Regions from separate parts of the Homo sapiens genome. Here regions 1 and 2 are each linked to region 3. The links are contacts of gene promoters, found by promoter capture Hi-C in blood cells and fetal thymus (Javierre and others, 2016). All regions are on one chromosome and are shown on one strand. The core of a region is centred on a gene start or on the middle of the fragment in contact, and the rest is flanking DNA. Distances in the headings are between cores, read along the strand shown. Region 1 has its middle 14 kb from the start of MESTIT1. Region 2 overlaps COPG2 (coat protein complex I subunit gamma 2). Region 3 holds the start of CPA2 (carboxypeptidase A2).

Region 1 (3,851 bases), core at 622-3,121, 210 kb after region 3:
CTTCTCTAGCTCTGGCCTCTTGGGGATCCAAATTCAGTACCAAAACCCTTAACCACTTTGCAGGGGGTTGTGTCCAGACCAACTCTTGCAAAGTCTTAACCCTGAAACCTCCTAGCCATAGTTTCCCAAGCCGTTCCCCCTCAATCATTGCCTTGCCTTGGAACTGGCCAATTAATATGGGTGCATTTTGCACTAATAGCTCCAGACTTCCCCCTCTTGCATCTGCCACCTCAGATTATTGTCAGAGGCGCTAAGGAGGATGCTCTGTGAAATAATATTTACTCTTATTTCTCTATCAATGGCTGTCTGAAGGAGCATTTCAATAGTACCCTCTTGGGTAGAGGCAAGGAAACAGGCAAGTGTGTCCCGGTTTCTGCTCCTAACAAATTTCCCTTCTCTCTTCTGTTAAAGTCCTTAAGTGCCTGATCACCCATTTTAACCACCAAATATTAACTAAAATAGCCTCCTCATTCCTGTCTTCATTTATTAGAGCAGTTAAATCTGTATTCGTCCTTTTAAGTACGTTGCTTTTATGTAGTCTCGTCTGGGTTCTAAGATTTCAACCATCCTAAGTCGTGCCTTTCTTTCCCTCTTTCTCCCTGAAGCCCTTGTAATTTTCCTATTTGCCATTTCCAAGCTAAGACCTGTCTCCAGGGCAACGGTCCCCTGCTCACTAGTGAGTCCTCAGCCCCTGCCCCCTCAGCAAAGACCCTTCGACTTTTTATGTGCAAATTGGATTTTCAGAACCTAATGCTCCGGGTGTAGGCTGATTGTATTTTTTTTTCCTTTTTCTTTTTCTTCTTTGCCTTTGGCATTGTAATTATTTAATTTTTTCAACTGCTTCAGTCGAAGAAGCTATATTGCCAATTTAATTCTCCCACTTCACTCCACCTGCCTCATTTTCTGTGCTTTAAAAGCCTCTATGATAATCAAGACTTATTGATTAAAATTTCCAGAGGGCCCCAAACAGGAGAGACAGACACGGGAGTATCTTTGGACCTCTTGTGGTCAGGCTGCAGGTTTCGTGCTGATGGCCAGAAGCTGTTCGTTCAGCCCATCTTTGAATAGAGTCATCCTGGGGTAATTTTCCTGTCATCCTAGAATGCATGAGAGGAGCACCCCGCCTGTTCTTCAGTGGTTCCTGGTCCCTCGGATGATGTAGTCTGTGAGGAAGTTTTTTTCTGGCCAGTAATGAAAGGAAAAAAAATAAGGCCAGGTGCCAGTGAATGAACTTTTTCTGGGGAAGGGTAGTCATTTCTATTTTGTCCTTCTCGCTTTTGTGGTATTAAAATGTCTTTTTATTTTTATGGCCCTTTCTTGAGCTCTTGTGTTTTATTATACCTGTGAACTCGAAACCTGTGGGTTTTATCTCTCTCTTCCACCAATTCTGAAACTAAAAGCTGGTTCACTAGAGCTGGTTTTAAGATGAACTTCCCCTGACCCCAGAAATGAATCTGCCTCTCCAAGAACACTAGATTCCTACTCCTACCAAGAGATGCTAGTCCAGACCTCAAGCCAGGGCAGGATCCCATACTTTGCACATGAGATGTTCCCCAGGAACGCAGCTGCTCTTAAGGTTTGTGTGAGCAGCTTCCAAACCTCAGTCCCTCATTCATAGGCTTACATCGGTTCTGCCAACCCCACCAGGTGTTAGCCTTGTCCTCAGAATCCCAAACCTTTTCATTCTGAATACTTGCCTGGTTTCCTCTTCTGGCAAAGTGTCTGGACACTGTAAAAATCTCAAGAACATCCCTGATCCCAGCCCTTACTTTTTAAGGAGGCATTTTTTCAAATTTTTTCCAACAAAGTATTCCTAAGAGCGAAGACTGAAAACATGCAAAGGAGAAAAATGAAAGCAGTCTGAAGGGATCACTGCAAGCAAGAAATGTGTATTTTGTGTTAAAAATGCATTCAGTGTTTGCATTCTACTTTATAATAGATTCCTTTTGTATTGATATTAAAATGTTTAAAATTACTTACCATCAGGCAAAATGAGTCTGCCACTTCAGAAATGCGATGTCTCCATCCAGGAGCTCAAATACTCATGGTGCACAAAGTGACCCCACAAGAGTTTCAGCCAACCCCATGGCCCAGAATGGTTCCATCCTGCAGCTTGACTTGGCTCAGAAATCCTTTACTCATCTTTAGCCAACTTCCTATGCCATTTCTTTTTAAGGGACTTTACCAATCCCCTCCAAGCCCAATCTTACCTCCACCTCATTCTACAGGTTATGTTCTGTTTTGGCAAGGAAGGAGTGGCATCTTTGTAGCTCTTCTTAGCTCTTGGGTCGCATCTTCTTAGCTCTTCTTCAGTCCATCTCAGAGGACACTGATATGTGGACCAAGGAATGCATCTCTCTTCCTTTATGTTATGCTCTGTTAAAAGAGCACCAAAGCATGTTGCCTTGGGCTCAGTTATTCTAAAGATTAAAAAATATATATTTTTGTCCTGATTCCCAAAGTAGTGCATCATAATAGTCATCAGCTGTGTTTGCTTGTCAGTGCCTTTATTCTATCAGGGCCTCTTTTTTTTCTCTTTTTTCTTTTCTCTTTTTAGGAACCACTATTCAGTGTGGGGCTGATACCACCCTGTTGCTACTCAGCTCCAAGCATGGTTCCTGTGACCCAGGCCTGGTCATTAGAGTCCCAGTGTTCAGGGAAGGGTATATGTCCAAGCAAGTCCATTTAGAGTCAGTCCAGAATTATCTGGGTATGGTGGTATGAGCCTATAGTCCCACCTACTCATTTGCATTTTCACATAAACTTTAGAATCGGCTTGTTATTTTCTACAAAAAAAGCCTGCCCAAATTTTCATTGTGATTATGTTGAATCTACGGGTCAATTTTGAAAGAATTGACATTTTAACAGTATTGAGCTTTCCAATCCATGAACATGGTATAACTCTTCACTTATTTAGATCTTCCTTGATTTTTCTCAGTAATGTTCTCAGTGTACAGATCTTGTAACATTTTATTTAATTTTTCTATAAGTATTCCATATTTTTTGATGTTATTGTAAGTGGTATTGTTTAAAATACAATTTCTAATTATTCATTGTTAGTAAATAGAGATACAATTGATTTTGTATATTAACCTCATGTTCTACAATCTTGCCAAACTTACTTATTGGTTCTGGTGGGTTTTTTGTAAGTTCCTTAGGATTTTCAACATATGCAATCTTGTCGTATGTAAGTAGGAGGAGTTTTACTTCTTCCTTTCCAGTGTGTATGCCTTTTATTTCTTTGTCTTGCACTATTCCATTGGCTAGGGCCTCCAGTACAATGCTGAATAGAATTGTGAAGATTCTATTCAGATTCAATTCTTGCCATGTTCTCTGTATTAGGGGAGAATGTATCAAGAATAATGTTAGTTGTAGGTTTTTAATACATGTCCTTTATCAGATTGAGGAAGATTTCTTCTATTTTCAGTTTGCTAAGAGTTTAAAATTTTTTTTAAATTTTTATAAATAAAGGGGGTAAAGTGCAGTGTTCTTACGTGAATATATTGTGTAGGGGGGAAGTCTGGGCTTTTTGTATACCCATTACCTGAGAGTTTTGATCAAGAATGGAGTTTGAATTTTGCCAAATGCTTTCCTGAATCTATTGAGATTGCTTTTTCTTTTTCAGTCTGTTAATATGGTGAGCTATATTAATTGATTTTTGAATGTTAAAACAATTTCAAGATCCCTGGGATGAACACCATTTGTTTATACTAGGTCATCCATTTATATATTGCTACATTCAACTTGCCATAAATTTGCTGAGAATTCCTGCATCTGTGTTCATGACGATACTAGCGTGTAGTTTTTTTCTTTTTGTAATGCCTTTGTCTGCTTTTGGCAAGTGAATAATG
Region 2 (3,993 bases), core at 1,454-3,953, 240 kb after region 3:
AATATGCCTGTTAGGTGTTATACTGTTATCAGGCAATATACTGATAGCAAAATGGGTCTCACCTTCAAGGGTTTTGGTAGAACTGAGGGCAAAGGTTTCCTCTTTCTCAAAGGTATCTCCCACCTCTTCCCAAGCAGCAGCAAAGTTAGGCTTCAGTACTTTCTGAATATGGTCAGACACAGTCACTTCGAGATCTTCCAGCTAGTGGGTAATAAGCAGTCAGTAAAGAAAAGTCCTTTCTGTTATAGGGCAAAGATAAAGGAACTAGTCAATATGGTCCTCCGGAGCCTAGAGAAAACTCTACCACCAAAATAGTTTAAGTTCTGTAGTCTGGATAAATCTAATGTTGTAGCCCTTAGCAAAGGAAAGCAAGAAAACAGAACATCTGGCAAGAGCCTCAGATCAACATCTGTAGCCCTGAGGTACAGAGTAGTCATGTTGCACCCACACTTGACCACTGAGTTCTGGGCACACGGTACCCTCTGATCATTCACTAAGAGGTTGATATTTTTTAAAAAAAGTTTTCCCTCCATTCTGTGAAGGCTTTTTAATCCATGATCTGGCTATAAACTAACAGCTGCTGAAGCAAAAACAAAAAACCAAAAAACAAAACCAACCCCCTCCCCAAATCATTTTAAATAAAACTGATCTCAATGAAAATCATGTCATTATTTTCATCTCTTAATTATCCCTATTATAAAGAAAAAAAAGGGTGAGTTTGTTTTAATGATGAAGTGGTAAATCTCAATTCTCTCTGGCCTGGTGCTGTCCAGTTACAGAGGAGGGTTAGTCCAGGTCCTCCTAATTTGTCATCTGTTTCAGAAGAATAGAAATCCCTTAAGTTTATGTCAGATGCTCCTAGAAAAATGTTCTCTCAAGGCAGAAGTCACTTAGTGTTGTGAAGGTGTCAAAGAAAGTCTCTATGCTGGGAAGACTCACCACATACTCATCATCATACCCATCCTCATCTGGAACTCCAGTGTTAGGGTCACAGTCCCGGACTGTAAACTTCATGGTGCAGCTAAAGGAGCCTGCAACTGGAGGAGAAGGGAGGCAAACCTGCATCAGTGGGGAGTGCAAGGGAGACGTTTCCATCATTCCATCTGTACTCAGCACTGTGTTCCACATTTTCCAGTTAAACACACATGCCCTGTTGTCTGGGGTAGTGGTTCTCAAAAGCAGCCTACAAGCGGGTCAGGAAGGCAGTCTCACAAAGCATGAATGTAAAGTCTATTCCACGCTGTGGGTTACAGCAGTACAGAAATGATAACATGGGCAGACTGTTTCTCTATTGGTATGAAGAAAGCAGCAGAGAGGTACTTTTGGGGGCTTTTTGCCATGCCTATCAAAGGGGCCTAAATGTTGAAAAATAAATATTTTGAGAACCACTGCTGTAGGACCTGACCAAAAAAAAAAACAAAAAAAAAACCTGTGGTAAAAAGCATACAGATCATCAGATTAACATTGACCAATCTCATCAGCATCTCAATACTATCTTTAGATTGTGGACTGATGGCGGGTCCACAGATCACCAGAGAGAACTTGCTTTATCTGTCAACCTTCAGCCTAAAGTGAGTAGGTCAGTAATGAGTTTCTAGTATTGGTAAAGTCAGTGTCTTAAATGGAAAAGCAAGTGGGCAGTTGTATGTTTTCACACAAGTGGTGTTAAGTAATAAGAAATGGAGGTGGGGGTACATTTTTGGAAAGTGAAGTCTTTATAAAAAGTAAAGACAGTATTTTCTGAAATGTTTGAAGGAGGGGATTTAGCAAGCAGGGATGAAGAAAAGGCATTTAGGATCTTGTCTATGGTCTGGAAAAAGCTTATAGGTACAAAAAATATTAGATATTGGGAGAGTTAAAAAGTTATTTGGGGGATAGGCAAGGAGAGGAAAGAACAGGCTCAGATGTGAAGACCATATACGACAGATTGGGTAATAAGACTTTCATCTGCTCAGTCTTGACTTTAAATTCCATCCATTCATCCATCCACACATGTAGTGACTGTCAATACATGTTGACATTACACGTAAAGGTATAAGCTTATGTGCCAGACACTTGGATAAAAAGATGACTGAGACATGATCTCTGTCTCTAGGAGCTGTCTAGGAGTTAAATAAGTGTGTGGGCTGTGTGTGTGTGTGATCTATCTATGACTTTACAACTCAATGCCATAGATCCTTTAAGTTTTAAGAGAGTGCCATGTGAGGGTGCGGGATTAACAAATAGCCTGGGAAAACTGTAAAAAATGTGAAACGATATAATAGTTTAACTGGCTCTCAAAAGATGCAAAAGAGCTTTGGCAAGCAGAGGAAGATGTACAAACAGGCAAAAGGAAAGAGGCCAGAAAGTCCACCGGGCAGCTGGAAACAGTAAGAGGCATGCTAATGCCTAGGTGCTGAGAAGATAATTTGTTTAGGAATAAATTGTAAAATACCTTGTATTTCAAATGATTTTCCAACAGGCTCTGGTGAGCTGAGGCAGTCAAGAGATTGAAAGGTTAGAGATAAGCTAGATAAGGTGCCTAATTTAAGCCACTGGTGGGGACTATGAAGAATGGGTCTGAATTCAGAGAGCAGATGGATTCAACAGAATATGCTGAAAACAGACGATGGCAGTGGGTTTTCCCATATAGGAAAGAATGAACCTATCAAGCCTGCAGAATCAATTTCAATGCCATTAGGGGTTGAGAAAAGAACGACTGTGGTTTAATTAGGATAGGATTTTCTTCAGAGAGAAGGGGAAAGAAGTGAAAGTTAACACAAGGCCAGAACAGGTCAGGTGAGGCATTTTTTTTAAACCATGAAAGAGATACAGAATATGGTAGGGGAAAAGGTCATGATCAAGTTAGAATGAAGAGTCAGGAGAGACATTAATTATAGCAACCCAGTGTGGTTCCAATTAAGCAGAGAGGCTACAGCAAATGAGGAGGACAAAGAGACAACATCAGGTATGAAGGCAGATCACAGACTGGGCACAGGGGCTGAGTTTTATGTGGAGGTAAAGACAGAAGACACTTACATATAAGGACCTGATACAGAGAAAGAGATTAAGGAAGTAAATAGGAATGGTGTTAGTAGAGATAATGTTCCTGAAACCTTAGTGGGAATTTTTTTACTTAAATGGTTTGATTGATACAATGAGAGGTTACAGGGATCTAAGGAAGTCTAGGCAGTAATCTGTCGAAGCTGCTGGAGAGGATGACGAAATGGGGCGAGGAGGCAAGATGCGGGGGCCTTTCCATGGCAAGAAAATACTGAATGCACTGCCATAATGTAAATATGAGAGTTACACAGACAAAGCAAGGCAAATACCAAAGAGAATCAGGAAAGAATGCCCTGAAGATCTGCATTAAAACTGTTCTCTGAAATTAAGCTTGTCTTGTGAGGATTCACTGAAAATGAGAGTCAACCACTAAGGAGATTTGTATGAAAAGAACCCAGCGAATTAGAGAAAAGATAGATGCTGGCAGCTAAGACAGGAGAGGGACATGTGAGTTGGGCCAGGGTACAGAAAATGCAGTGTGGCAAAGGGCAGAGTGGGAAAGGTGGGAGGGAGCTGCCAGGTCTCAACCACCTGGGGGAGACCATGACAAAGTAAGAGACACTTATGAGGTATTTCCAGAAAGCTTTGTTAGAATAATAATTAAAGAAAAGGGTATGTCACTAGGGCAAAAGATTAGAAAGAAGGCAAAAGAGATGGATCTGTACAGGCTAACTGCAGCAGTCTATGCAGGTCTGGACTGAACTGAGAAGCAATGGGTGCAGCATAGTGTGTAGGACATCGAGGAAAGCTGGGCAGTGAGTGCCAAAATAAGCAATACACACCTACCTGGAAAATCGTGTTGAGTCTGTGGGAATGCTGTACAAATGGTGGGAGGGAGTTTTTCTCTAGGACAAATTCAGAAAGGGAAGGAGGAATGGTACTGGAAAGCAACATTAGAGTTGTCCTCAGATGAAAAGGAGTTGGTCACTAAGGAATGACACACATCAACAG
Region 3 (4,046 bases), core at 668-3,167:
TCAGCATTGCCCTCATCAATCAGTTACCTGCTTAGAAACCTTCCAAGGCTCTCCATATCATCTGGTGTGTACTCCTCTGTTTGGATTGTGAGATCCTTTGCCCTCTAGCCCACCTTCTGGTATTTTACCTTCCCCACCACTCCCAGGTTCAAGTCTCTGCTCTGCTAGGCTAAGTTTCCTCCTTAACCCAGCTGTGTATCATGTGCTCTCCCCTGGTTCCCTGTCTAGCTTATATTTTCTTACCACCAGAAATCCAGGCTCTTTTCACATTTGCCTTGGCACAAAGGCTCAGCTCAAACTCCATTTTTTTTTTTTTTTTTTTGAGACGGAGTCTCACTCTGTTGCCTAGGCTGGAGCGCAGTGGTGCCATCTGGGCTCACTGCAAGCTCTGCCTCCCGGGTTCACACCATTCTCCTGCCTCAGCCTCCTGAGTAGCTGGGACTACAGGCTCCCGCCACCACACCCGGCTAACTTTTTGTATTTTTAGTAGAGACGGAGTTTCACCATGCTAGCCAGGATGGTCTCGATCTCCTGACCTCGTGATCCACCTGCCTTGGCCTCCCAAAGTGCTGGGATTACAGGCGTGAGCCACTGAGCCCAGCCTGAAACTTGATTTTTTCCAGGAAGCTTTTATTGATTCTCCAAGTACATACTTCCAGTTTATTGAACTACTGTTTATTTGATAGGTGCTGGAGACATGAGGATGAATTATGGCCTCTGCCTTTTGGTTTCTGTCTTCTCTCTGACTCCCAGGAGAATGAAAAACCAAGTTAATCCAGTCATTCTTAAAATCAGAAACACTGTGTATATACCTTTCCCCTTAAAGCAGATATTTGAGAATGCAAACCCAGAGATTTAAAGTGTGTGCTGATAAATTTGACACACAAAGGACAGACGAAAATTTCCTTGCTGCTTGTTGTGGTTGAGGCTTTCTAGGCTTAATATAACGTGTATGAACAACTAAAATTAAATAAACTATGGTTTCTAAAAATAAGCAGTTATATTTTCTTCTTAAGCAATGAAGAACAAAGTCAGATTAATGTAGATCTATGTTTATGAACAAGAAAAGATCACCTTTGTTTAAAGAACAGTATACGTGATATGGTCTAATCTTTGTTTAAGAAAAAAACTCGAAAGCAGAGAAAGAAATTTGGAAAGACATATGCCAAATGGTTTTCTTTGGATGGAAGAATTATTGATGGTTAAAGAAAACACTTTCTTTTAATTCACACTTTTTATAACAAGCAACTTCATTGTTGCTTGTTATAGGAAATGTCATCAGAAAGACATTTTCATTTTGGGAAAAAGCACAGAAAGAGGGATATCAATTTGGTGCAAATGCAGATGGATCACTTTCGAGAAAGTGCAAAATTGAATATTAAAAGGCCTTCTGTTTTGTTTTAATGTAGAGTGAGGATTGGAATGGGCCACATCTACAGGGACACTCAGCAGATGTGGACTGAGTGACTGCAGTGTTTCAAGGTAAACATTATAAAAATAAACAAATGAGCAAACTAATGGAATGTGATAGACAGGATGCCTGAGTAATTACTATAAATGCTCTGGCCTTTTTTTTGTGTGTGTGTCAGAGACCCAGAAAAGACTTTAACCTCTAGGTCTATTAATCTGGCTTCTATCACAGGGTAGCTAGTGGCGTTTTATGGTCTCAATCATAACTATATTGCCCTTGGTATGCTCTAGCAATTTTGTTCTCTTTCCATCAAAGTTTGTTATCTTATCCTAGGAATGGAACATGTACACATTGGTGATATCACACAGGTGGATGTCTACAACCTTGAGAATTTCACATGCAGGTGGGAATTTTCCCATGTGGGAATTCACGTGAGTTCTCAGAAGGCCAGCAGATCACCCTCAGCTGCCATCCCTACAAATAAAGTTCAGGAAGGACTCTGAATTCTGGACTCCAGGAAAACCCATGGCCATGAGGTTGATCCTGTTTTTTGGTGCCCTTTTTGGGCATATCTACTGTCTAGAAACATTTGTGGGGTAAGTTATGCTTTCTGGTGCTTCTTTGAATTTTACTTACCTGATTGATGGAGGCTTTGATTGTTACAGAGTAAATGGGTATAAGTGTTCAGTGTTTTCAGAGAAGTTCTCTTAGATTTGGGGATAAGTCAATAGTGTGAAAAAAAGGAGTGGATGATCAAAAAGGAGGTGAATGACATTTAAAGGAAAAGACAAAAGTGAAAACTGAACACACATAACCCTATTTCTCTCTGTCCTTACTCATTTTTCCCTCCAGTGATCAGACTGTAGGGATGATAGACATCAGGGAAAATACAGCTGTGTGGCCATTTGTTCCAGGCAACTCAGCGGGTGTCAATGCTACTCTCCCACCTCCTCCTGCTCTTCTGGGCTTTACCATCCACGTTAGCCCTTGTGCCCTAACCCCCGATCTTTAGATTCAGCACCTAGGTGGTGGAACCTCATGAAGTAGAAAGGCCAGGGCTATAGATTTCAGCTCAACTCCTCCTCTCCTGGCTTTGGAGGACTCATCTTTGCTCCAAAGTACTTTGCTTCATGATTCTATGAAGGGTTTCAGGCAGCATTTTTTGAAGAGTGGTCCAGGGAGCTAAGAAAGCAATCAAATAAGTTTGGTCCCAAAAAGCCACTGGTCAAATAAATGTGGGAATCAGAGGATTAAACAAACTATAGGATTTCTAGGAGCCTTGGCTAAATCAGTGTGCATTATAAATCTATAAGAGGGGATCTAGGTTGCAGCATGTACTCTTTTTTTTAATCATAAACTACCTACTGCTCCCAGCTTGCCCTTTCTTTCTTTCTCTTTCTCTTTCTTTCTTTCTTTCTCTTTCTTTCTTTCTTTCTTTCTTTCTTTCTTTCTTTCTTTCTTTCTTTCTTTCTTTCTTTCACTGAGTAACTCAAAGAACTACTATTCTTTAGAACACACACCAGGAAATATGACCCTGTTGTATTACTTTTCTCAGTGCCTTCCCATTTTAAAGGAGGACTCCTGGGAGTCCATGCATTAACCGAAAATAATGAGACTTAAATGGAAGAATTTTCAGACCATTTGTGGCAGGTGAGCCTCGAAGAGCTCACATTCCATCACTTCTGTATTCCACTGGAGTTCGTAGGAAATTGCATGGAGCTTGGTTTCAGAAGACCCATATTCTGGTCCCTGTACATGGCTCATTGTATTGATTCCTTCCCCACTGCACAAACAGTTGGGGCAGTGACTTAGGAAGTCTGCCTACGTGGAGAAAGGCTAGAAGGGGAAACTCTGTCACCAAGGGAACTCTTCCTAAAGAGATGTGCTTGATTGTTTTGAGATTTCTCTTTCCTGTTCATCCTTCATTCCCTATTAAGGGGGTGTGTGTGTGTGTGTGTGTGTGTGTGTGTGTGTGTGTGTTTGTAAAGAGAGGCACGGCACATAATTTGTCAGGGTCCCAACTATCTCTGGCCATGCCCCATGTTTGGGCCCCATGAATGGGGTCTGGGGATGGAACCTTGATACATTTTCAGTTGACAAAATCAAAGAACAAACAAAACCCCCAAAACCATTAAAAACAAAATCTTAGGACTACCCACATATGAATTGTTTCCTCTTACAAGCACCAAATTATTCCACTTTTTAAAAACTTACTTCTGAACAACAGGAACAGGCAAGTATTAAAAGCTATAACACTCCACAAGCAGCAGGTTTTATTTGACTCATTAGCTATGGGAAAGGTAACTTTAATGGCAGGCTTCCTGCTAGGAGCAGGTACACCTATTCATTATTATTTAGATAACATTTCCTGGGAGGAAATAACGCCATTCTATCACCTTCTCATTCTGGCGATGTGGGTTTAGTATACTATTTATTAGTTTCTGGATTGTCACAGAGATTATTGACTGTTGCATTAATCTGTTATACGCAGAGACTAACAGGTGCAGAAAGCAACAGGAAACAGTGTCCAGGTTTTGCTTTTAAGGTCATATTTGTGGTTAATTTTCTTTAGAGACCAAGTTCTTGAGATTGTACCAAGCAATGAAGAACAAATTAAAAATCTGCTACAATTGGA

Evidence for each region. Contacts are between HindIII fragments. The CHiCAGO score rates a contact against its expected background, and 5 or more counts as called.
Region 1: a contact is called between a fragment that was not itself captured here and the fragment with the promoter of CPA2 in region 3, in 1 of 17 cell types (megakaryocytes). The highest score is 5.1, in megakaryocytes.
Region 2: a contact is called between a fragment that was not itself captured here and the fragment with the promoter of CPA2 in region 3, in 5 of 17 cell types (megakaryocytes, M0 macrophages, naive CD4 T cells and 2 more). The highest score is 7.7, in megakaryocytes.

What each region holds. Positions count from the first base shown.
Region 1 is chr7:130,475,355-130,479,205 of GRCh38, forward strand. No RefSeq gene overlaps it. Among named protein-coding and RNA genes, the nearest start is that of MESTIT1, 14 kb to the right of the region's middle. The HindIII fragment of the contact is 5,266 bases long and covers 1-3,851 here.
Region 2 is chr7:130,507,623-130,511,615 of GRCh38, forward strand. It overlaps COPG2 (coat protein complex I subunit gamma 2), which reads right to left. Exons shown (of 24, transcript NM_012133.6): 21 at 940-1,037; 22 at 63-201. Among named protein-coding and RNA genes, the nearest start is that of MIR335, 14 kb to the left of the region's middle. The HindIII fragment of the contact is 1,333 bases long and covers 2,038-3,370 here.
Region 3 is chr7:130,264,946-130,268,991 of GRCh38, forward strand. CPA2 (carboxypeptidase A2) reads left to right here and starts at 1,918. Exons shown (of 11, transcript NM_001869.3): 1 at 1,918-2,007; 2 at 3,984-4,046. The coding sequence starts at 1,937. The HindIII fragment of the contact is 5,023 bases long and covers 626-4,046 here.